Regions from separate parts of the Homo sapiens genome. Here all the other regions are linked to region 2. The links are contacts of gene promoters, found by promoter capture Hi-C in blood cells and fetal thymus (Javierre and others, 2016). All regions are on one chromosome and are shown on one strand. The core of a region is centred on a gene start or on the middle of the fragment in contact, and the rest is flanking DNA. Distances in the headings are between cores, read along the strand shown. Region 1 holds the start of ADPRH (ADP-ribosylarginine hydrolase). Region 2 holds the start of B4GALT4-AS1 (B4GALT4 antisense RNA 1). Region 3 holds the start of TIMMDC1 (translocase of inner mitochondrial membrane domain containing 1). Region 4 holds the start of CFAP91 (cilia and flagella associated protein 91). Region 5 has its middle 68 kb from the start of IGSF11-AS1. Region 6 has its middle 7.3 kb from the start of COX17. Region 7 has its middle 51 kb from the start of IGSF11-AS1.

Region 1 (3,626 bases), core at 42-2,541, 350 kb after region 2:
CTTTCTCTGAACCTTGGACCACCTTCCTCCCCTATCCCATAAGCACTCCTAAAATTCCATCTTTGGAAAGGCACATTTGAGGCCTGTTCTCCAGTCTCCTGTCTTGGCTGCCTTGTGAATACACCCTTTCTCTACTGCAAAACTTGTGCGCCTCAGTGATTGGCATACTGTGTGAAAGACAAATGAGCCTGGTTCCCTGACAGGAGCTGAGCTGTCTCTTCCTGCATGCAGCCAGCAATAAAGATTCCTCTAGGAGAGGTATGTTCTCCACGCCAGAGCGAGAAAATAGCTCTCATCACCAGAGATTTGGAACTGGAGGTGGCATTTGGACTGGAGTAAACATTCTTGCAAAGTAACCATTATCTTCCACCTGTTTTACACCCCACCCCCCATATATCTCCTAGGGGCTCCCCTAGAAATTTTTTACCACCCTAGCCGGATTTTCTTTGTCCTGTCACTTCTTCTTAAATTTATCACTCTTTTTCTAAAAAGTATAAAAGCATCTTGCTTTGGACACTTTCTTCAGGATTCAGTCTCTTAACATCCCCATGTACATGTAAAATTAATAAAATTTGTATACTTTTCTCTTGTTAATCTGCCTAGTGTCAATTTGGCTTCTAGATGCAGCTGATTAGCTCACTAAGAGCTAGAGGGTGTAGGGGGTTGGAGGTGATCTCTGCCTCCCTTATTGGTGAACTTGATTTTTGTAAACACTCAAAAGTCACTTAGGCTAGAGTTGGAGATGGAGATGGTTATTCACTGGGAAGGCCACAAGAGAATGTTTTAAAGTGATGGAAATATTTCATATCTCGATTATGGTGTAAGGACATTTCATTATATATAAATTATATATCAATTTTTTAAAAAGCTCTCAGACCAAGGCTAGTCATTACAGCAAGAAAATAGGCATAGCAAATTTAAAACTTTGGAGAAATATATAGAATATTTGCATATGGTGATTCTGATTTGCTTTAAAAGTGACATGATTAATGTATTTAGACAAAAATACTCTTCGTTTTTCTTTGCTTTTATTTACGATCAGGATACAAGAATTCTACGCTGCTGCCAAATAAATGACTAGTTAAAATTAACTAACTGAATCCTTAACAACCATTCTAAGAGGCAGATATTATTATCCCACTTTATGCGTGAGGGCCCAGAACCCTGGCAAGGGCGGCACACTCAGTACGCTCTTCAAGCATCTGGGCACACCCGGTCCACTACAGTCCTACAAAGTCGGACGTGAGCACGGGCGAAGGCGTCAGCCGGGGCCACACGGGAGTCACTGACCACAGCCAGGCGAGAGCCGGCTTTCCGGTGCCGCCACATTCCGGGCACCAGGCTCCGGGCTCTTCAGAGCATTTGGGGCGGGCGACGGAGGTCCCGTCCACTCTCGCTTGGGTGCAGAAGGGCGCGGCGGTGCCAGGAAGCCGCCTTGGAGGCTCCAAGATTAGCTCACTCAGCGCGGCCAAGCGCAGGTGCGGGGGCCCTCGCCGCCACCCTGCTTATCTGGGGACAGTCCCGGAACCCGGTGACCCGGCTCCGCCCCAACCCGCGCCCTCGTCCACCCGCAGCAGCCAAGGCCTCTTCCCCGGCCCCGGGAGCCCGCGCCACGCCCGTCGCTCGCGCGTTCCAGTCCAGGCTACAGCAGGTATCGCGATCCCGGCCCTCGGCCCCGCGCTCCCCTCCCCCGCCCCTGGCGCTCTCCGAGTGTGGCCGACCATGAGGATTCCCAGTCTTGCAAATCGTGGGAGCGTGTCAACCGCCCCGTTTCTTTCCAAAGCCGGGCATGGCCCGGAAGCAGCTGATCAGATCTTAGTTCTGAATGTATAGTTCGGGTACGAGAATGTGACCCGTGAAAGTTCAGAGGAGTTAAGTAATTACAGCGTTCTGAAAGCGAACGTTAAAGGGAATTTACAACCGAAAAAAGATGCCGGTCTTCTTCCCCCATCCCAGCTTGCAATTCACAGAAGCACACATTAGGGTGGAGCCAGAAGGAATTACGGAAAGGACAATGAGGACATTGAGAGGGAGGGTATGGGGGGTTAAAGTTAGTCCTCCGAGGCCAAGAAGCAGAGTGTCTTGGCCTAGTGTCTGAAAATCGCAGCGCAGGACGGAACTTCCGAGAGCCTATACCTCCCCACTTCCCCCTCCAGTTTACAGATGGGCAAACCGCTGTCCCGGGTGTCTGTCAGGTCTAGTAGCCCAGAATCTCAGTGCCTAGGCTTCACTGTAAATAATAAACTATGTAAATAACATTTACAAATATCCTTTGTGAGCTCAGAAACTCAGCATTACCAGTAACTGGGTAGTGGAACGCATCCATCTTCGTCGTTTACTCCTTCTCCAGGGGCTCTCCAGCCTGCATTCCATGGCCAACAGCAGTGCAGCTGCAGAAGCACTTCTGGAAGCCTCCTGACTTGAACTAGACCTTGGGTAAATAGGGTTTAGATAAGTGGAGGGGAGGGAAAAGTTTCACCTGAGGGGAGAATGAGCTAGTCTGCCAGACCCTTATAAAAGTATTGGCCTGGATGGGATGGAGGGCTTTGACCTGAAAGCCACAGGGAGAAGGGAACCCTGAGGAATTGGCTGAAAGAGGGGGGTTCTTAGGAAATGCACCAACAGGGAAGCCAGCGCTTTACCAGGGATTTCATTCATGGTGGGTATATTATTAATAGAGATTCGAATTCTCTAGAAGCTGATCATTTCTAAGAGAAACAATATTTAAACATTACTGTCGAAGGAAAGGTTGTGGGGAGAAAATGTTCTAGTTCTAAAACAGAACACCCATTTTCCCTGGTTGTATATGAATAATACAAATATGTCAAAAATCAAGCTTACTATGTGCCAAGCACTCTAAGAACTTTTTTTTTTTTTTTTTTTTTGAGACAGAGTCTTGGTCTGTCGCCCAGGCTGGAGTGCAGTGGCACAATCTCGGCTCACTGCAACCTCTGCCTCCTGGGTTCAAGCGATTCTCCTGCCTCAGCCTCCTGAGTAGCTGGGACTACAGGCATGCACCACCATACCCGGCTAATTTTTGTATTTTTAGTAGAGATGGGGTTTCACCCTGTTGGCCAGGCTGGTCTCGATCTCCTGACCTCAGATGAGCCACCCACCTCGGCCTCCCAAAGTGCTGAGATTACAGGCGTGAGCCACCGCGTCCAGCCAACTTTATGAAATTTAATTTATTTATTCCTAACAACAAATCCAGGAGGTTGTTACTTTTTAAAATCAGTGCCATTTTATAAATGTGGAGGCTGAGGCACCAAGAGGTTGCCCAAGGTAAGAAGATCTGGACTGAGGCTGAGTGGTGTGATACCAAGCATCCTGGCTTGGCTGGAATCAGATTTGGGTTCCAGTACTTCCACTCCTCTTGTTTTGTGAATTTAGCTTATCTGAGCCTTCATTTTCTTATCTGTGAAATGCATACTGTAATCCCTCCCTATTAGTGAGACAATGAATGTGCAGGTGCTTTGTGAACTACACATTGTGACACTAATAGGAAGTGTAAAGCCTTGCACTTCTAAGGCCAAATCCCAGCTAAGAAGAGCAAATGATGAGCTGGGTTTGACTTGCAGAATTTAGTGGGCTTACTACTCACCAAGAGGCAAGAGATACAGTTGTAG
Region 2 (3,328 bases), core at 815-3,314:
TTTCTTCGTGCTTCACACATACTTATATTCCAGAACTTAGAAACAGTCCTTGAAATCCAAAGACTTGTTGTTTAATGATAGAGAGTTCCAGTTTTGCAAGATTAAGTTCTGGAGATTGATTTCATAAATACACTGCATATATTTATGCAACCAATATATTGCATAATTATGCATAGATACATTGCATGTAAATATTCTTAACATTACTAAACTGCACACTCAATAATAGTTAAGATAGCAAAAATTTTAAAAAGTTAAAAAAAGTTAAGATGGTAAATTTTACATCGTGTGTTTCACAATTAAAAATTTTTTAAAAGCAGCTTTAAAATACAAATAACTCAAATAATCAATAATAATGTACACTTAAAATGTATTGAGTATAGCTCTCATGTTAAATATTCTTACCACAGTTAACAAAAAAAAATTTTCTCTTAAAATTTTACAAATACCTTTACGTATTCTGTATAAAACTACAAAACCTTTCTTATATACTAGTCATGTCAATTAGTATTACTGCTTCACAGTTCAACCCTAGGTAATCCCAATCTTACCCTCTGTTATGAATTTACACTAAGCTTCTAAGAGACTTAGTTAATAGCTTGCCAGAAAGGATCAAGAAATCTCAACCTATAGAAAGAGAAAGTTATTGCTAATATTTCTAAGCTACTTTAAAGTTTCTCAGAAATCCCTGTAAGAGAATCCTGTTATAATGCTACTGGTGGAGGCTAATCCTCACAGTGGCCTTATGGAGGTAGATTCGTCACTGGGCAATAAAAGAACACAGTTTGACCTGTAATATGATTGAAGCTGTAATAAAAAAATTAAATAATTTTTTCATGGCTGCTTCATTCAAATTCCTTCAGAATGAATTCCAGTTAAGTGGTTTATCATAAAAGTGCAAGTATTTCTCAGAAGTTACCACAATGTTTTCCTGATAAGAATAACACGAAGCAGACATATTTTTCTCTTTCTCTTTTTCTTTTTTTTTAATTTGAGATGGAATCTCGCTCTGTTGCCCAGGCTGGAGTGCAGTGGTGTGATCTTACCTCACTGCAGCCTCCACCTCCTGGGTTCAAGTGATTCTCCTGCCTCAGCCTCCTGGGTAGCTGGGACTACAGGCATGTGCCACCACACCCAACTAATTTTTTTTTTTTTTTTAGTATTTTAACAGAGTATTTTGTATTTTTAGTAGAGACAGGGTTTCACTATGCTGGCCAGGCTAGTCTCAAACTCCTATCCTCAAGTGATCCACCCACCTTGGCCTCCCAAAGTGCTGAGCCACCGGGCCTGGCCCAAAGCAAACATGTTTTTCTATTCATAAAAATAGTACTATACCTTGTAGGTTACTGTCCTGAGCAAGAACTCAGAATCAAATAAATCATAACTATGACCAACAACCTTAAAAACAAAAATAGCTATAAAACAATATAATAGTAACATTTTGTTCCAAGTACTAAAATACAGACATAGGTGTGCTATATAAGCACACTGATTTTCAAGAGCCTCAGTTTATCACCAAGTCTATACTGCAGAGCTGGTCCTCTGAGTTGTCCAAAGTTTTATCTAAAAGAAATATTACCTGTTCTAACAGTAGTGATGATTTTGCTGACATTCTTAGAATTTATAAGAATTTGAGGGGGAATTATCCCTCTTCTTGGCCTCCTTGGATGGCCAAGGATAACTGTGAAAAGTTTAGACACTGATGTTTAAACTGATGTCTTAGTTTTCTTTCAATAAACTTTAATGCCAAATAGAGGTATCTTTAATCATCCACTCCACTGACCTCAGAGGTAAGCTCTTCAAAAGCAGCCGATAGTTATGCTGTGCTCCTACCAAATCATGCTTCTGGAAGTCAAATAGATGAATCCAGAAAGTGAAAATCAAACATAATATGTTTCACATAATAAATAGTGGCAAAGTTCAGGGCAGAAATGTGGTGGCAGCCATAGAGCACCACAGCTACTAATACAGAATGTTCTTTCAAATCCTCTGTCTAGATCCCCATTGAGTTGCTATGGTTGATAATGACAGACAATTCCAGAATCTCATCATATAGTGCATGGCACGCACAGAAAGAAACAGAAGGGGCCAGGAAGCCTCCGGGGAAATCTGAGGGCAGTCATTGGCTAACATGGAAGGGCTCACAAAACAGGCTTCCTCCAGAGGTTCCTTTAAGGGCAGTAAAATTTCCCAGAACTTGAACCCATAACTCCACACTCTGAGACAAGAATTTCCTCTACTCCTTTCAAGGATAAATGAGGTAAGAGAACTCGTTTTTGATGATAGTCTGATGTTCCTTTTACCCAACATAGACAAACAGTCACATGGCCAAGTCTGGCAGAGAAGAGGAGGGTCGAGGGCAGGCCCTGGTCTGCCCCCACGCTCACCTGGTGGATGACGTAGATGCCATAATCCAGCTGCTGCCTCTGCAGGAAGGGATGCAGATGTTCCAGCAGGTACATCAGGTGTTTCTCTCTGTTCCGGTGGGGAACGAGGATGGCGACCCTCTGTAAAGCTTTACATTCCTGAGGGCGATACCGGCCTCTGGACACTTTGGGATTTTCTGCCTGTACCTCTTCCAAAGTGAGATCTGGTTTGAAAATGAGCTTGCTCTGGCCTCCTACAATGAACATAGGACACAGACAATAACAGTAGCTACTTCAAAAAGTGTTGAGGTTTACACGAGCTAATATGCATAGAAAGAACACTGCCCAGCTCACAGTGAGTACTACAAATGTCAGCTTTTATTATGATTACTTTAAAGGCTCATTTAGTCATGATAATGGCCAGAGCATCATGTCACTAAGGTTACTGGCTGCAAAAGCAAGTGGTGGATATATAATATAAGCATTTCCTTGTGGCTGGGTAATCAACTTGCTCTATGATCCATCTGTAAGAGGGAATATCCTGGTGAACTCTGGTAAGAGCAAAGGGCAGGGCTAGACAGAGTAACTTCAACTTTGGTCTATCCTCTTTTCCTTCACCAAATTCCAGGAGGAGGGGAAAATCTCTTAAATATCAACAGCATTCCACAGAATCAAGCTCCTGGACAAGGCACTCTTCCCACCCCTTCCCTAAACTCTGGAACCACCCTGGCTCCCTGTAAGCAAAGCACTAAAAAGAAGTAGAAACCAGTCTCCCTCCCTAACCCAGCTGTAACAGGTATGTGTGGCACTGCAACAACTCTCCCATTTTGCCACCACAACAGACGTTTCCAATCGAGCACAGTATTTGCTCAGTGTCTGGAAGCAATCCAAACAGATGAAACCCAAAGCCATCCACAGGAGGAAAACAGCTCAGGTTTTTTTGTTTGTTTGTTTCTAAATTC
Region 3 (3,427 bases), core at 6-2,505, 270 kb after region 2:
TACTGCGGTTCTAGGTCCTGGAGATACAGAGATGAATATATTTGGTCTGTGATCTCAAGGATAGTTTATTGAGACAGATTAATAGGAAATTATGATGCAGTGTTGTAAGTGCTACGATGAGTGCTGAATCAAATCTCATATCCCAGAGTAGTCTTCATGGCGCTGTCACTAATTGAGCTGGTCACTCTAGTCAGTCACTTCTCAGGGACTTATGTGTAGCATTTCCAGCTATCAAATTCCTAAGTCCACTTACTGTATTCTACTACAGTGTGGCAGTTTTGATTGACAACTAGAAAGGAATCAAGGAGGTGAAGGGATTGGCAAAATGAATAAGGGAGTATGCTTGTTAACAAGGATTGAATGAAATTACACGAATATTGAGAATATTTTAAATGCATTCATTTTAATGAAAACTGTACTTCGAAGCATATGTTAGCAGAGGTTGTAGTGACGGCAAATTATACAAACACTTGATAGAAATTCCAGAAATTCTCCTGCCTTTTGAGAAGCAGTAGGCATATGAACTAAAGGGAGTGAAATCCACCTTAGGAAGACCTGCCAAAAAGCTGATTCTTCAAAAAAGTGTTCTCGAAATCTTAGTGTAACTGGCACCAACACCCATCCCCAATGCCTCGTTTTTTTTCCAGCAGAACTGACAAGGTACAAACGGACCCCGCCCAGCCTGGAAGGCTTCTCTAATGTTGGCAGAGTAGGTTGGACTTGTTTTTGCACAAATCGCCTTTCCCTCTTTCCCTACTCCACTTGCACTGAATATTGCACTTTCTTCCTTACTGAAGCGGGATTCCTGCCTTTTTTTTTTTTTTTTGAGACAGATTTTCGCTCTTGTTGCCCAGGCTGCAGTGCAGTGGTGTGATCTCGGCTCACTGCAACCTCCGCCTCCCGGGTTCAAGCGATTCTCCTACCTCAGCCTCCCGAGTAGCTAGGATTACAGGCGCCCGCCACCATGCCCGGCTAATTCCTGGCATTTTAAATACGATAAATTACTTCAACCTATGACCACCTCAAGCTGAATATAAGTAGCCGCAGACACCGTTTGCATGACCCAGGAACCACAAACACGGAGCGAAGGCCTGCCGGGACCACGCTGAGCTTCACTACTGGCAGCCAACTCACTTCCGGGGGTGCACTCAGCACAGCAGTGGCCCAACCCGCCCTCAACCGGAAGTCTTTTGGGCTCCGGCTTCGCCGTCGCCCCGCCCCCTGGCCTTTGCCCCGGTCGGGCGGGACTTCCTGTGTCGTATTTCCAAGGACTCCAAAGCGAGGCCGGGGACTGAAGGTGTGGGTGTCGAGCCCTCTGGCAGAGGGTTAACCTGGGTCAAATGCACGGATTCTCACCTCGTACAGTTACGCTCTCCCGCGGCACGTCCGCGAGGACTTGAAGTCCTGAGCGCTCAAGTTTGTCCGTAGGTCGAGAGAAGGCCATGGAGGTGCCGCCACCGGCACCGCGGAGCTTTCTCTGTAGAGCATTGTGCCTATTTCCCCGAGTCTTTGCTGCCGAAGCTGTGACTGCCGATTCGGAAGTCCTTGAGGAGCGTCAGAAGCGGCTTCCCTACGTCCCAGAGCCCTATTACCCGGAATCTGGATGGGACCGCCTCCGGGAGCTGTTTGGCAAAGAGTAAAAGTGCCTAGGGTGTGAAGTGGGGTAGGGGGCCGCGAAAGCGGTGTCCTGCAGCGTGGGCAGCCTGGGTCAGCCTTAGGACACCAAGGATGGTGTGCTTCATTTTTAGATTATATTTGAGGTTCTGATATTTGTAACCCAAGCTTGTATCTTTTTTCTTTCTTTTTTTTTTTTTTTTTTCCAGACAGGGTCTTGCTCTGTCGCCCAGGCTGGAGTGCTGTGGTGCTATCTCGGCTCACTGCAACCTCTGCCTCTGGGACTCAAGTGATCCTCCCACCTCAGCCTCCCGATTAATTGGGACTACAGGCGCGCACCACCACGCCCGGCTAATTTTTTTTTAATGTATTTTTTATAGACAGGGTTCTTACCATGTTGCCTAGGCTGGTCTTGAACTCTTGGACTTAGGCGATCCGCCTACCTCGGCCTCCCAAAGTGCTGGGATTACAGGCGTGAGCCACCGCGCCAGCCCAAACTCGTATTTTTCTTTCTTTTTTTTTTTTTTTTCGAGACTGAGTCGCGCTCTATCGCCCAGGCTGGAGTGCAGTGGTGCGATCTTGGCTCACTGCACTCTTCACTTCCCAGGTTCAAGCGGTTCTCCTGCCTCAGCCTCCAGAGTAGCTGGGATTACAGTTGCCCACTACCATGCCCAGCTAATTTTTGTATTTTTAGTAGAGACAGGATTTCACCATTCGCCAGGCTGGTCTGGAACTCCTGACCTCACGTGATCTGCCTGTTTCCGCCTCCCAAAGTGCTGGGATTACAGGCCTGAGCCACCGCGGCTGGACTGCGCCCGGCCTAGAAGGGCAATTATTTTATAGTAACTTAATACTTAAGACAGCTATTTGTTAGAGCAGTCTCAGGATGACATCTTGGAAGCTTCATTAGCAGTTCTAGCTTCTTATGCATTTGAGAGTAACAAATCGAATTAAATAGTAGTTTTTCCTTGTTATTTTAGATTGGCATGTGCCACCCACTGCATAGTGAACTTTCCCAGTGCGTTTTTAAAAAAACATTTATTTGTTTATTTTTAGAGCCAGGATCTTTGCTATGTTGCTATGCTGGATTTGAACTCGGGCTCAAGTCCTACCTCAGCCTCCTAAGTTAGCTGTGACTACAGGCGTGTGCTACTGTGCCCAGCCCAGTGCTTTTATTAGTACAGTCCTATCTGAGTATTTCATGAAATTATTTAGTAAAATAGAATTTAGATTTTTTGTCTTACATCCACGTTTTTATTCTTTCATACATTGCCCTAAAATCTCACGAGTTGGTGTGATTTCTAAAAGTTAACTTAAGATTTAAACGGAAATATTGGTCTCTCTATCCAACTCACAAATTCTTCCTATTTCTAGGGGTGTAATAGTCATCAAAAGCACCTTTTAAAAAACTTTTTATTGGAGTAGGAAATGCATTTCGAAAAATGTGCCTAAGTATACTGATGGATGAATTTTCACAAACTGAACATAGCTGTACCCAGCACTAAGAAAGAAATGGCAACTATTGTAACATCCCAAAAGCTCCCCTTGTGCCTTTTCCGGTCATTGTCTTTTCAGGAGTTGCCACTATCCTAATTCTAACACCATAGCTTCGTTTTGTCTGAGACTACGTTCCTTTTAATATAACTGAACTGTTTAATTCATCTGAGAATTCTACCTATGATGAAAAATGTTGTGGTGGTAGCATTTGGGTTAATTCTGATTATAGAGTCTCTTGGAGAGCAATGTCCATAAACTAATCCCAAACAACATTGTCTTTTTGATGTTGTAGTGAACAGCAGAGAATTTCAAAGGA
Region 4 (3,782 bases), core at 688-3,187, 480 kb after region 2:
ATATGTTATCTATAGATTCCAGACATTGTATGGAAAAGCATTGTGAAAATCCCTGTCCTATTCTGTTCTGTTCCGATTACCAGTGCATGCAGCTCCCAGTCACATACCCACTACTTGCTCAATCGATCACGACCCACTCACGCAGACCCTCTTAGAGTTGTATGCCCTTAAAAGGGACAGGAATTGCTCACTCCGGGAGCTCGGTTTTCGAAGATGTGAGTCCGCCAATGCTCCCAGCTGAATAAAGCCCTTTCCTTCCATAACTCGGTGTCTGAGCGGTTCTTGTCTGTGGCTCGTCCGGCTACAAACCCACAAGTGGATAGAAAATAACCTAATCCTATGGGACAGAAAAAGGAAAAGGGGAGGAGTCATAAGGGGATATAAACATAAGATACCCAAACCAGAAATGGCAACCCTTCCAGGTTCCCTTCCACCACGTGGAAGCTTTACTTTCGCTTTCCCTTTACTTTTGCTTTGGCTTTAATAAATCTTGCCACCGCACAGTCTTTGGGTCCACGCATTTCTCTAGTGAAGCTGTAACACTTGCCACTGTGGTCCACGGCTTCATTCCTTGAAGCCTGTGAGACCATGAACCCTTCGATCGAGAAAAACCTTTGATCGGAAGAAGACTTCTCGTCTCAACATTAAAGGACAAAGAAGCCAACTCTAAGGCATGCCATTAGCTTTAATAATCTGAGTGTAATAAATAATAATGATCATAACGGATTAAAACATCAGATCTGTAAAAAATGCATGCATTCATAATGATATCAAACAAACAAAAACTTTGTGGTTAACTCTGGAGTTTGGTAGGGCACCAACTCATGTCTCTGAAATTTCATAATTAAAAAGAACAAATCCAGCATTTACCCAGTCTTTCCTCTATGAGATTATCCTGGTTATCTCAGGATAACCAATGAGTTGGTATGAAAAGATTCCTTTTATAGAAGAACCTCTGGTAATAATAGAGAATTATTGAAAGGATTAGAAATTCACTGCTCTAGGATAAAAGACTTAAGAGACATACCAAAATGCAACATGAGGACTTTTTTTGGATCTTGACTGGAACAAACCAACTATAAAAGATAATTTGGACTCAAACAGGAAAATTGGAATTATTTATAGTACTAAGGAATTATTGTTAATTTTGTTAGATATGATAACGGTAGTTAAATTTTTAAAATCTATGTCAGTTTGAGATGCAGACTAATTTAAGGGTAAAATAATATTATGTCTAGGATTTCTTTAAAAAAGAGGGGAAGGAAACTGAAACTTGATTGGCAAAATGTTGCTAAATGTTGATTCTGAGGGATGGGTTACTTGAGGGTTTGTTATTAAAAGTAGAATCACTTTTGCTTATGTTTAAAATTTTCCATTATAAATAGTTTTCAAAAGCAGAGCCAGTGCCTACCCCACATCATCTTCTGTTATTTAATGCCCAGGACTCAGAAAGGGTCAGCAGTCTCAGATCAACAGTTACTGATGTCCTAACCCATCCTAAACACTGATGCTAATGAGTGTGGGGCAAAGTTCACAGCGTGCTAAGGAGCAACATTTAGGAACCTGACTGGATTCCGCAGCTCTCGGGACAAGCCCCCTGGAAAAGGGCTGGGGGGAGGGGCGGGGAGGCACCCAATTATTCTAGAAGGTTCTGAGATCTCCCAGGGATTTCCGAGAGGCTACGAGGTGTAACTGGCAAATCAATGACTTAAGAGTAGCTTTCTCCCAGCCTCCCCGCTGGCTCTGGAGTATAGAGGGAAGCCAGCCTTTTCCTCCCCCATCCTGCCCCTCCCCTCTCTTCTCATCTTCCCCTCCACTCTCCTCCTGACCCTGGCCTGGCCACTCCTGCTTTCACTTCTCTCCACTCCTCTTCGGCCCCGCCCCGCGGCCTCCTCCCTCCTCCTTGCCCCGCCCCCTATCCCTGCGCGCCGGCGGCCGTTACCATAGCGACGTGCACGCAGTAGCCAGGCCTGACCCGCTGGTCCCTTGCTGGCGGGAGGAAAGAGGCGGCACCATGAGCCACGCAGTAACCATCGAGGAGCCCCAGGCCCAGCCGCAGGTGTCTCAAACTCGGTACCGGGAGAGGTCGCGGGCTGGGAGCCACATCTCCTCCAATCGAGCGTATGATTTTCTGTACGGTAAGGACCGCCGCAGACCTTCCTCCGCGTCCGTCGCCTCCTAGGCCAGGTGGGCTCCCAGATGGTGGGACCTGGCCAGGGGCATGGCGAACGAAACACGACCCTCTGGACTGACCTCTTGCCCACGGTTGTCCTTGGTCGGGTGGGGGCAGCTCCGAGCCCTCCAGGTGGCCGCACTCAGGTTGGGGTCGGGGGTTCGGGTACATCGAAAGGCGCGGGTGCGCTCCGCTTCGGGGGGCGATTTTCCTGAAACCTGTTCCGGGCGTTTTGGTACCCAGAAAGTGTGCAACGATTTGTACACTCGGAGATTCACTCAACGTTCCTGCATAAAATGCCCTACAAAAATGATCTTTTCTCTCCAACTCTCTGGGCAAATCCAAGTTGGGCGAAAAGAAGTGCCAGTTTATCCCATGCTTGTTTTTAGGTTTTTTGTTGTTGTTGTTGTTTGTTTTTTTTAACTTCTGCGTCAAAGCATTGCTTATAGACTGGGTCCGCTGGCTCCTCTTGGGCCAATAAAACCCCAGTTTATTTTAACGGCTTGGTTGTCCATTTTATGTTTTCTCTCTCTCCACGCTCCTTGAGTTCCTTAAGTTCCTGTTCTACACATTTTTGTAGCCTTCTGAGCACCTATTCTAGTGCTGATACATATACTAGGCGCTTCAATAAATAAATGTTTATTGAATTTGCCGTGGCAAGAACTGTAACCAGCTATAAGCATGATTTTTTCCAATTTTGCCCTCTGCAATCCCAGGTTTTTCACCTGAACCTTGCATTGCTTTCAGCAATGTGGTGTTGCCTCTGGGAATCCCAGTCTCCTTTGTGTGGGAATCTAGGGTACACATTCCTAGATAGAGGCTGTGTAATGATTGCTGACATATTCTGGCCAGTGTTTTTCTGTATTTACTCTTGGTTTTGTGAAATAAATCAAGTTAGCTCCTGTAAACACATCACCATGTTTTTTTTTCACGGGTAATTTGAGAAGGAGGACAAACATCTCCCCAAAGTATTTATTAAGCTGGTTGTTTCTTTGATGCCGAAGTGTCTCTTTTGCAGAGGAATTGCTAAATGTTTCCATGTCCCTTGCTAAGAACAGAAATTCACTCAGAGTAGATCAAATAAAAGTTTGGATTGTTATAAAACAATCTCGCCGCTAGTCATGGACAGGAAGCGAAGTATAGCCAGGGCGGATGAGAACCTGGATGGGGAAAATCAGAACTAAGATGCTGTGCTCTCCTGCTTTCTTTCTTTGACCTTATGACCTTTCACCTTGTTAGGGTTGCCACATTTAGCAAATAAAAATACAAGAGGCACCGTTAAGCTTGAATTTCAGATAATGAATAATATTTTAGTATAAATTTTTGTCCTGTGCAATATTTTGGAACACATTTATACTAAAAAATTATTCATTGTGTATCTGAATTTAAATTTAACTGGGCATCCTGTATTTTATCTGGCAACTCTAGCCTTCTTTCTATGTATAATCAAGCCCCAAGTAATGATATTTCGGTCAACAGTGGACTACATGTATAAGGATGGTCCCATAAGATTATAATGAAGTTGAAAAACTCCAATTACTTCGTGACATTGTAGCTGTCATAACATTGTAGCCCAATGCATCACTTTTTCTGTGTTTAGATATACAAA
Region 5 (3,851 bases), core at 486-2,985, 350 kb before region 2:
TCAGCATCTACTATGTGCCATGTGTGAGGCCTGGAAAAACACAAATAATTATGAAATAGTTACCACCTTCAAGAAGCAAATAATTACAAAATGGTTCCCATCTTCAAGGAGCATAGTCACAGGACAAAATTAATTTGAATATGATATGTATATCCTATGATAAGTATACATTATCTTATATAATCACAGAAGATTTATTTTCCTGTCTTGGGCAATCAAAAAAAGCTTCAGGAAAAGATATCTCCTAGGAAGAGATTTTTCTATTCTTCTGTGGTGGAGATTCCTATTTTCATCATATCCTTTCACCATGAAAGTTAGGTTTCTAAGATAAGCAACATAACTTTCCTGAAGTTTTGTCTCAGAGCTATTAAAATAGAGATGTTGAAAGAGTCAACAAAGCTGTAATGTGAATGTGAAGATCTACGGAAAACTGATGTTAGATTGTGAACTCCTGACATAAAATAATTTGGAGGATGACTACTAGACATCATTTCAAGCTGTGGTGACCTTATAAACTTATTGCCCAAATTAAGACACTCTGAGAGTAATTGAGGGACACTATTAATAATTCCTAGGCTACAAATATAAACTGAGACTAACCTGAGTGAGCTGGTAATAGGGTCACTCTAGTGTAAGGCCATATTTCCAGTCATCTGGGAAATAGTAAAGACTTCTAACAACATACTTTGTAATGACCACTGGTCTTCCATATCACATTGAGGTTAAACTGCTTGTGAGGGATTTTTGAATAATATTCTGAAACATAAGATTAATTTTTGGCCTTGAAATTAAGCAACTTTTAAATGTTAAGTGCTATTGTCTGAATGTTTTTCAGAATTCATATGTTGAAACTTAATCCCCATGGTGGTGTTGTTATGAGGTGGGGACTTTAGGAAGATGATTAGTCATTCCGGCTCTCCTCTCATAAACAGATTAGTGCCTTATAGAAGATCTGGAGGGAAGTGGCTTAGGGTCTTTTTGCCTTTTTGGCCCTGCAAATATGTGAGGACACAGCAAGAAGGCCCTCACCAGACACTGAATGCTGGTGCCTTTATCTTGAACTGCCCAGCCTCCAGAACTGTAAGAAATAAATTTCTATTGTTTATAAATTACCCAGTCTGTCGTATTTTGTTATTAGCAGCACAAATGGACTAAAACGATGAGACTAAGATCACATCTGAATGGACCATTACTTAGAACAGGATGTGACCAGAGAGGAGGGTCCAGGAGAGCACTCAGCACAGCCACAGGGGACAGGCACTGGGGAAACTGAATCAGCCACTAATGCCAACAAAGCTTCCTGATCTACAGCACTCCTAAATCTTAGCTCATGTAAATACTCACCAGTGGCTGAGAGAGAAAGAGGAGGAGGAGCACAGGTAAAATCGGAGGCTATCTCAATTGGTAGGCAGAGACAATTGAAAAAGAATACAGGATAGGTAAGACTCAACAAGTCAGGTCAGGAATCCAATATCTAGATGGTATTAAAGCCGAGCCACAGCCTTGAATTCTGCCTGGAGAGACCTAAATCACAAATTCAATTAGTGGTACTGTGGCACTGGGGGAATGCAATAGTCTTAAATACAATGTTGACTTTGCACACATTTTAAAATATGTATTTATAACAATGAGACATTTCAAATAATAGTGATAGTGGCTAGTGTGCATTGAATAATGTTTCAGTGACTGTTCTAAGTGCTTCACATCTTAAATGCTGTAAACTATTATCCTCATTTTGCACTTGAGAGACTGAAGTATTGAGATATGAGCTGTGAAGTCTTGGAGGACACGGGAAGCAATGCATTTACCATTGTTGCAATTTTGTCACTTAAAAGGTAGACTTGGACAGACAAGAAATACAGCTCTTTTAAGGCAATGCCATTTACTTAAGAAGCACATAATGAAGGATTTGAGATTATCCTAGAGAGTGTCTCAAAGGGTAATATTTTTTAAATTTTTCCAACAATAGTGAGAATTTCCTGTTCACTTACACAATGCTAAGTTTGGTGCATTATTATAAATGCCCACTTTAATTAATACAATAGTACAATGTAGTTCACCTAGAATTAATGGATGAGGTAGGAAGCAAACTTGCTCCTATTTCTCAAAGAGGTGTGGAGAGAGACAGAAGTTAGGGAAAACTTTCTAATAAAAAATCAGCTGTTGAAATCAAAGAAGCTTTAGCATGAACCAAATTGCTAAGAACCAATGGCAAATTAGAAGAGGTTAACTAGGTGCTGGGATCCTAAAAAGAGATCTACCATCCAGAAACTCAGACTGGAATTTGATAACCTTCTGAGAAACATCAGATTATTGTTAAAGCACGTTCCAATAAACTAGAGCTCCTATTTGGCTCAGGATGAATGTTTTTAATTTTGAATACTGCTCTGAATTGCTTATCATGAAAATGTTTAATAATGCAATGTGGCTACAATGTAGGAAGCATTGTAAAGAGAGGCAGAAGGTGAATAATTGGGTAAAACAATCTCAATTTAAAATGAGCAGGGCAGCTGGTTCATAAAAGAAATACTGTGCACATGAGTGGAAGAAAATAGCTGGTGAAAAACAAAGAGAATCAAAAATAGTGTAACACAGAGAAAATGAACTGCAGTTCCTTTCTCTTTTAAGTCCTAAATAGAAAGCCATGTGATGTAAGCAGTGGGTTTCTATATTACCCAGAATCCCAAACAACAACTAAAGATCTAAAGATGTGCTTTTGGCAGTAGAGTTGGAGAAAAGAATAGATTCCAGATGACTTAGATGATGCCCCTCACGGAGGCCCAGGAAATATTTGCCAAGGCGTCAGCTACATGGACAAGGTAAAAAACATCACAGTTGGCCACACAAGACATTTGGGCCTCTATATGAAATTTATGTTCGTTGTGTGCTGTTTCCAAGTAAAATTTCAAATTAACTATTTCTTTGATAAGAAATCGCCATAATTCTTAGAGTGCTGAAAGGGAGAAAATGAACCAACTATAGTCATGGACAATGAAATTAATTGCCTGAGAATTTCCTGTAAAAGAGCTCTGGATTAGGTCACAACACACTTATGTTAAATGCCGTATAAGACATTCTCCAAAAAATATCCTAAATGGGGCCTAGATCTCCTGGCACTGTCATATAAGGAGTTCTGATGGGACTAAATTGAACAAATAGAAAGTAATCGTTATCTGTTAGAAAGGTGTAGCCAGGTCTTTCTGTACCCTTTCCAAAAGAAAAACTGCATATCTTCCATGAGAGACAAAAGTATGTACCATCTGCAAATTCTTGCAAAGACCTGTATCACATAAAAATTACCCTTATTCTCTCCTTCGATATGTGGATTTCTATAAATAAATCGAGAGAAGCTAAGCCTTTGGTAAGCCAAAAAAGACAAAATAAAATTGTGACTGGATGTCACTATGAGCCCCCAGTTTCGGTCTAGAATAAATAAAAGGAATCTGTGTTTCTACGCCCCTTTTCTAGAACTGTTGCACATTTTCACCAGGCTGCCTGGTCGAGGAGAAAAGAAGTCTGGGAATGGGGATGCTATCTTTGTAAAGGCGTTGGAAAGAGGATCTCAGCACGGCAGTGAGAAACCACATTGGTTCTCTATGGGAATTAAGCAGATTAAGTGTACAAACCTATAATTCCAGGGAAGTAACAGCCTTGTTGCTGCAAAGGGTAGAAGCTTCAGAGTGGAAGTCACTATTAATTCCTATGTGGTTTGCCACAAAGGGTGTGCTGTCAGCAACAACAACCCCTAGAGCTGCTAGCTTGAATTCTCAGGCCATGCTCACATGAACTACAGAATACTACAGTGACTCTAGAGACTGGTGTCCTTACGTCTCTCATTCTATGCTATGAAT
Region 6 (3,390 bases), core at 406-2,905, 460 kb after region 2:
ATGAAGATGGAGCCCCCATGATGGTATTAGTACCCTTATAACAAGAGGAAGAGACCAGAGTCCTTTTGTTGTACCCATGTGTGGATACAACAAGAAGGCAGCACTCTGCAAGTCAGAAGTAAAGCCAGGATCCTTGCCAGGTACTGAATTGACCGGCACCTTGATCTAGGACTTCCCAGCTTCCAGAACTGTGAAAAATAAATATCTGTTGCTTAAGCCACCCAGTCTATGGTATTTTGTTATTGCAACCCAAGGAGACTAATACAGCTGTATAACAATATTACCACATACCTGGTGGTAATACATATTTATTATCTCACAGTTTCTGTAGTCAAGGGCATTACTTAAGTGACTTCTTTGATTAGGGTCTTACAAGACTTGAATCAAGCTTTCAGCTGAGACTGTGGTCTCATCTGTGGTTCTACTGGGGAAGAATATGCTTCCAATCTTATGTTGTTGACAGAATTCAGTTTCTTGCTATTGTAGGACTAAAGGCTTTGGTTTCTTGCTGGCTATCAGTTGGAGGCTACCCTCAGCTCCTAGAGGCCTCCTGTAGTTCCTTGCCAAATAGGGTTCCCAACATGGTCACTTACTTCCTCAAAGCCAGCAAGGGATAGAGAGCCACCCAGAAATATGGGCATTACAGTCTTATGTAAGAGAACCATGTAATTACATCTATCATATCATATTTGGCATATTCTATTGGCTAAAATACTTGAAAAGAGGGGATCACATGAGAACATGAACACCAGGAGGTCAGGATCCAGGGGCCACCTTAAGAATCTGTCTACCACAGGTCGATTATCTAAAGTGAAAAATTGATTATACAAATGGAGTCATTCCTGTTATACCCAACTAAAATTTAGAGTTAGAGGACCATAGGGGTGAAAAAACACTCAGGTCTCAAAAGCCTGCTCCAGAAACTGTCCCACAAGCCCAATCCAATGAAACAGCTGCTACAATTTTAAGACTAGTTTGACAACAAATGGCTGCCATGACTTCAAAGCTTGTTTTACCTAGTAACTTTTGCCACCCAGCAATCAGAGCTTGCCAGCTCCTGCAAAATGCCACAAGCACCAATAACCTTTCTCTTTTCCCAATGAAACCTCAACCATTTCCTTTTTTTTTTTTGAATATATTGGAGACCACTTCAGTTTGTATGTTTGTCCCAGATTGCAATCCTATTTCTTTGTTTATTTCAAAATAAACTCTTTTTGCTTGGAGATTAGTCTCTATCTGTTATTGACATTACATGGTGTCAGAAGTGAGATGCAAAGCAGATTCACTTGGAAAGATAATGGCCCCTGGAACTATGGTGTGCAGTACTCACTGTCAGACCCCTTGAGCCCCCTACTTCCGCTGGTGATCTTTTTTCACCCCAGTGAGTCTTTCTTGGGTTAAACACCCCTTTTTTTTTTTTTTTTTTTTTTGGATTTGAGTTCTTCAGCTTTATTTGGGATTTCTTTATGAAGGGCCTTTCCTCTCCTATTTATTAGGCCTCTATTTGTAAGGGATTTGAAGAAGGCTTTGTCATTCTTCCCGGTGAGTATGTACTTTACTCTTTGGTTCATTTTGTGTGCTTGATTTTTATTTTGGCTTTTGTGTGTTTGGCTTTGCACTGACTCACTTGGATATGTTTATTTACAAATGAACTCCCCAAATTCAAAGATATACCAAAATAGCCCCCCAACATTGGGGACTCTAGCTTGTTATATGCTTAATTATTATGGTCCATCTTCCTATTCTTTTTTTATCGCAATGGACCAATTACACTAAAGAAAATTTGGAATTACAATGGCCATCTCTTGAACTCCCTAACTTGTTTTCTTAGAACTAAATTAGAAGGCCATGGCTACAAAATTAAATTGCCTGAAAGGAGCATAAACTTTAAGTGGTATCTTGAAGCATCTAAATGTATTCAAGCCTCAAAAATCACCTAACTCCAAAATACCATCACTAAGTTAACTAAGACAGATAAACAACGAAAGGAAGATTTTAAAAGGCCTTAGAAACTCAGAGTTTTTCTGCTCCCCTGGTACCACCACCTCTCTCTCCTCTCTACCCTTCCCTTTCTGAAAACCCCACTCAATCCTGATACTTCCTCCCCTACTACCCTCCCAGCTTCTGATCCCCATCCTCAACCTATAAAAACTTGTCCCTGTAGGGTTAGACCCACTAACAATCCTGAGGTTCCTTAGATTGTCTATGCCCTTGGAATAAGGCTGAAATCCATGTTAAAGCCAAGGAATTTCCTAAAGTTACCCAGGACCCTCTTTGCTTTGCTGATGAATTTAACATTACAATTGAAGCTTACTAGCCCAGCTTCTCTGATCTTAATCAACTTGTCCACATGCTTGTGGGAGAAAGCCAGGCTAATCACTGGATGAAAAAGGTCAGTTGTGGCTGGGTATGGTGGCTCACGCCTGTAATCCCCACAATTTGGGAGGCTGAGGTGGGCAGATTACCTGAGGTCAGGAGATCGAGACCAGCCTGGCCAACAGGGCGAAACTCCGTCTCTACTAAAAATACAAAAATTAGCCAGGCCTGGTGGCACACATCTATAATCTCAGCTACTCAGGAAGCTGAGGGAGAGTCATTTGAACCCAGGAGGCGGAGGTTGCAGTGAGCCGAGGTCACTCCATTGCACTCCAGCCTGGGTGATAAAGTGAGACCCTGCCTTAAAAAAAAAAAAAAAAAAAGGAAAGAAAGAAGAAAAAGGTCAATTGCACACACCCTGTATTAGTCTGTTTTCATGCTGCTGATAAAGACATACCCAAGAAGGGGCAATTTACAAAAGAAAGAGGTTTAATTGGCCTTTGGCCTTACAGTTCCACATGGCTGGGGAAGCCTCACAATCATGGTGGAAGGCAAGGAGGAGCAAGACCCATCTTACATGGATGGCAGCAGGCAAAGAGAATGAGGAAGATGCAAAAGTGGAAACCCCTGATAAAACCATCAGATCTTGTGAGACTTATTCTCTACCACAAGAACAGTATGGGGGAAACCATCCCCGTGATTCAATTGTCTCCCACTGGGTCCCTCCACAACATGTGGGAATTATGGAAGTATAATTCAAGATGAGATTTGGGTGGGGACACAGAGCCAAATTATATCATTTTGCCCCTGGCCCTTGTCAAATCTCATATCCTCACATTTCAAAACCAATCATGCCTTCCCAGGAGTCCCCCAAAGTCTTAACTCATTTCATCTTTAACTCAAAAGGCCATGGTCCAAAGTCTCATCTGAGACAATGCAAGTCCCTTCTGCCTATGAGCCTGTAAAATCAAAAGCAAGTTAGTTATTTCCTAGAAACAATGGGAATACAGACATTGGGTAAATACACCTATTCCAAATAGGAGAAATTGGCCAAAACAAAAGGACTACAGGGCC
Region 7 (3,518 bases), core at 582-3,081, 330 kb before region 2:
GTGCTTTGCAAGTAAGCAAAAACACTACACTTCAAAAAAAAAAGCAAGCAAGCAAGCTGCAGAGGACTCTATGAAAGCTGTTCTTTTTACAGAAGTGTGGTCACAAATCAATGCATTGTTAATGAAGAGTTTCCTCTATAAAACTCTAGAGTTATGTGGAGACTCAAGACTTGCTTATGACTTCTCGCTGTGGGGAGGTGTGGGCTGAGTTTACACAATGGGGGCTTTCAGCCCCATTTACTTCAGAAGAGCTTTGCCCAAGAAGCCTGATGAGAGAATTGCCCTTTTCCCCTCCTTTCCAAAATGTCAGCCCGGATTGTTTCAAGAACTAGGGAGAGCAGTGTACTGATCTAAATCATTGAAATATTCCTTGAAAATTTAAAATTACCAGAAATGCACCGTTTCTTTTTCTTCTGAAAGCACAAACATTAGAAAATACTATATAGCAATTAGGAGCCAGGTTGCCTATATTTGAATCCAGGTCCCAGGTCTTCCCATATAAACTTAGGCTAGTTACTTATCACTTGTACCTCGGTGTTATTATCTGCAAAATGGGATAGTGTTTGTACCTATCTCATACAGTGGTTGTGAGGATTAAAATGATTTAATAGATGTAAAATGCTTAGAGCAGCACCTGACACATAGTTTCCTGTTACTCGATACTATTCAGAAGAGGAGAGCTCCAAGCTGGATCCACCCATGAAGCTGCTGGAAACAAGTCTGCTTAATAACAGATATTGTAAATACTGGACCACAGGCCACACAGACCCACAGGAATGTATAATTAAGCAGGATTTAACTTAAAAAAATTCATTGCCGACATATACAATCCAAGAGAGATACAAATAAGCATTTCTGGCTTCTCTTGAAGATTCAAGAGACCTGGCCATCCTGGACCCAAGTCCTACTGACCACTCTTGGTGGGAGCTGAGTAGCTGCTAACCTCTTTAGGCAGGGCATAAATCTCCAAGTCACCATGCTCCCCATCTGGCCCAGTTCTCTCATTTACTTTACCTTCACAGGCATTTCAGGTTGTGATCTCTATACTAAAGGGATTGGGGCTCAGAAATCACAGCCTCGCCTCTACTTACATCATAATACAGGATCAGCACTGTGAAGTTGGAGGGGTGAACACACCTTGATCTCTGGATGACTGAGAGAGGGGAGGTGAAGAAAAGAGTTACAACCTGGTTGTATGTGAGACTCAGGTCTTCTCTAATCTCTCCAGTAGAACTTCCGTTTTTCTCCTTATAAAATTCAAATACATGACTTAAAAAGTAAACCAGTAACAGCTACAATTTATCTATACCATTTTATATACATTATCTAATGGTATCCTCAGACCTATGATGTAGCAATTATAATCTCCATGTTATATCCCCAGAGAGGCTAAACAGCTTGCCTCAAGTCAGTAGGAAGTGACGGAGCTGGGACTCAAGTGCAGGCCCAGGGTAGCAAAAGGCATCCTTCTACGTAGAATTTCCTCCAAATTCACCATGTCTTCAAAGACCTCTGTGTTCCCCTCAAAACTTCTCGCCTACGGGAATTTCCTCAAACGCATCCTCCCCTAGCAATAGCTCTGACTGTAGAGCTGAAGGTGGTAAGGGAACTAGTGTTTTACACAAATTGCAAATGCCCTAGGAAAGTGATGAGAAAGAATTAAACGGCTGTGAGACCCCCCCGAGTGTGCAGAAATTAAGAGGAGAAAAACTCAAAAAGCTTGACCGCATGGAAAAAATTATTCTAATAGTCTTATAAGTCAGAGATGGTAATTTTATTAAATAATTTTTTTAATGGGCAAAGAATGACTAGAAAGAATAAAGAACTCTTGTCTATGCCAGGCCAAATTTGAGGCAGTACCAAGACCTTTACTATTTATTGGCTATCTTAATGGAAGGACAGTATATGGCAACAGATGAGCAATGCCCTTGGCTCTACATCTTACAAGCTTTATGACCTTGAGCAAGGTACTTAACCCATGAAAGCCTGTTCCTTCATCTGTAAAATTAGCATAATACAGTACTAAAATTGAAAGTGTTGAGGATTCTATGGGATATACACAAAGTGTCCAGTATGCTGTCTAGCATACAGTAGGTGCTCTATAAATGCTGATGTTCTCCCACCCTCTTAATTATCCTCAGCGATTTGAAATTGATAGTAATCAGAAGATAAGTGTGTTATTTTGGAACAAAATGTGAGGAAAAGGGAAATAGGAGAAAGTATTTGGGTAGACAATAATTACCGAGGCTTCTCCTTTCTCTTAAACAAAAAAATGTCCCAAATTGCTATTTTATATGCAGTAGCACTCAAATAGTACTTCTGGCAAAAAGAGTTGAAATACTGAGTAGGTGTAAATGACATAGCTATTGCCTAGAAATTTAAAGCTTCTGAACTACTACGAATAATGGCAAATATCAAGTGTTTACTATCACCAGACACCATGATATTCATCTTATGTGCATTATTTCATTTAGTACTCACAATCTCAAAGATAACTATTATATTGTTTCTATTTTGTAGATGAAACTGAGCCTTAGAGAATTTTGTAGTTTGTCCAATGTAATGGACAACTGAAGCTCATTCATATATATATATATACACACACACATACATATATATATATATATAGGCATACAATCTTGTCCAAGCCTCAAATGCAAAACTGCTGCAAATCTGATAAACTGAGGGAGCAACTGATGGATGATAGAGAAATATGGCTTCAATGTAAGTTATAATAAGCTAAATTATCTATTCTAATCTGACCTCCTAAAATTAATCAGGTATCAACTGACCTCACTGTGTTAAATACATAGTAGGCACTATACTTATTGCTTTGTTTAATAAACTTGTCTCTATCATTAATGTCTTATGATTAAGTCAGAATTTTGTGCCTTGCCTTTACCTAAAATAGGGAAATAATACCTTCTTCACAAGGAAGCTGTGAGGAAAAGCTATAAATAGCTGTATACACATAGAATTTACAAGTCAACTTTTCTCTGAATTGCATTTATTGTCTCAGCATTTTTTCTGTGAAGTTGAATATCATCTTACTTAACACAAGTGATTTGTCCAAAAGAGGGCTATTTGAAGGCAAAACGACGAGGATCCCAGATCTTTCTTTTTAGACATTGGTTCAGTCAGACAGAAATATCTACTGAGAAAAGCAACTGACAGATTACTGAATAGTCTGGGAAAAATGTTTAACCACCTCAGTTTCTGAACTTGTAAAATATGAGTGATGATAGCGTCCATGTAGAAGTGTGATAAAATTAAATAAATTAGTACTTGAAATGCATTTTTTCATGTACTGCCATGTAATAAGCATAACAGATATTTTCACACAAAACCCTTCATAATTACTTAAGATTCTTCCAAACCACTGCATTAAGAATGTTATCTCCACAGCTTTCCCAAACAATACTGCATCTCTAATATAACATCAAATGCCCCCAAGGAACTGGCACAATCATTTGCCACATGAGTAAATGACTCTGATGTGGCCTTGCTTTGGGAATATT

Evidence for each region. Contacts are between HindIII fragments. The CHiCAGO score rates a contact against its expected background, and 5 or more counts as called.
Region 1: a contact is called between the fragment with the promoter of ADPRH here and the fragment with the promoter of B4GALT4-AS1 in region 2, in 2 of 17 cell types (naive B cells and erythroblasts). The highest score is 5.1, in naive B cells.
Region 3: a contact is called between the fragment with the promoter of TIMMDC1 here and the fragment with the promoter of B4GALT4-AS1 in region 2, in 9 of 17 cell types (activated CD4 T cells, naive CD4 T cells, naive B cells and 6 more). The highest score is 9.1, in activated CD4 T cells.
Region 4: the fragment with the promoter of CFAP91 here is called in contact with the fragment with the promoter of B4GALT4-AS1 in region 2 in 1 of 17 cell types (total B cells); the score reaches 5.2 in total B cells.
Region 5: a fragment that was not itself captured here is called in contact with the fragment with the promoter of B4GALT4-AS1 in region 2 in 3 of 17 cell types (naive CD8 T cells, total CD4 T cells and total CD8 T cells); the score reaches 6.9 in naive CD8 T cells.
Region 6: a fragment that was not itself captured here is called in contact with the fragment with the promoter of B4GALT4-AS1 in region 2 in 7 of 17 cell types (erythroblasts, megakaryocytes, M2 macrophages and 4 more); the score reaches 8.3 in erythroblasts.
Region 7: a fragment that was not itself captured here is called in contact with the fragment with the promoter of B4GALT4-AS1 in region 2 in 7 of 17 cell types (total CD8 T cells, non-activated CD4 T cells, total B cells and 4 more); the score reaches 10.1 in total CD8 T cells.

Annotation. Positions count from the first base shown.
Region 1 is chr3:119,578,201-119,581,826 of GRCh38, forward strand. ADPRH (ADP-ribosylarginine hydrolase) reads left to right here and starts at 1,292. Exons shown (of 5, transcript NM_001125.4): 1 at 1,292-1,651; 2 at 2,351-2,436. RefSeq lists enhancers at 896-1,397, 1,182-1,281, 2,222-2,441, 3,546-3,626 and a silencer at 1,462-1,601. The HindIII fragment of the contact is 4,349 bases long and covers 1-2,834 here.
Region 2 is chr3:119,224,422-119,227,749 of GRCh38, forward strand. B4GALT4-AS1 (B4GALT4 antisense RNA 1) reads left to right here and starts at 2,065. Exons shown (of 4, transcript NR_046574.1): 1 at 2,065-2,260. It overlaps B4GALT4 (beta-1,4-galactosyltransferase 4), which reads right to left. Exons shown (of 8, transcript NM_003778.4): 4 at 2,388-2,620. RefSeq lists a silencer at 867-1,039. The HindIII fragment of the contact is 1,940 bases long and covers 574-2,513 here.
Region 3 is chr3:119,497,292-119,500,718 of GRCh38, forward strand. It overlaps TIMMDC1 (translocase of inner mitochondrial membrane domain containing 1), which reads left to right and starts at 1,256. Exons shown (of 7, transcript NM_016589.4): 1 at 1,256-1,636; 2 at 3,404-3,427. The coding sequence starts at 1,443. RefSeq lists an enhancer at 996-1,045. The HindIII fragment of the contact is 2,873 bases long and covers 1-1,780 here.
Region 4 is chr3:119,701,085-119,704,866 of GRCh38, forward strand. CFAP91 (cilia and flagella associated protein 91) reads left to right here and starts at 1,938. Exons shown (of 18, transcript NM_033364.4): 1 at 1,938-2,138. The coding sequence starts at 2,015. It overlaps LOC105374064 (a long non-coding RNA gene), which reads right to left and starts at 1,959. Exons shown (of 3, transcript XR_924391.4): 1 at 1,412-1,959; 2 at 108-337. RefSeq lists enhancers at 1-757, 1,424-2,103, 2,097-2,146, 2,197-2,256 and a silencer at 1,817-1,986. The HindIII fragment of the contact is 3,012 bases long and covers 443-3,454 here.
Region 5 is chr3:118,872,803-118,876,653 of GRCh38, forward strand. No RefSeq gene overlaps it. Among named protein-coding and RNA genes, the nearest start is that of IGSF11-AS1, 68 kb to the right of the region's middle. The HindIII fragment of the contact is 882 bases long and covers 1,295-2,176 here.
Region 6 is chr3:119,683,008-119,686,397 of GRCh38, forward strand. No RefSeq gene overlaps it. Among named protein-coding and RNA genes, the nearest start is that of COX17, 7.3 kb to the left of the region's middle. The HindIII fragment of the contact is 1,303 bases long and covers 1,005-2,307 here.
Region 7 is chr3:118,890,237-118,893,754 of GRCh38, forward strand. No RefSeq gene overlaps it. Among named protein-coding and RNA genes, the nearest start is that of IGSF11-AS1, 51 kb to the right of the region's middle. The HindIII fragment of the contact is 229 bases long and covers 1,718-1,946 here.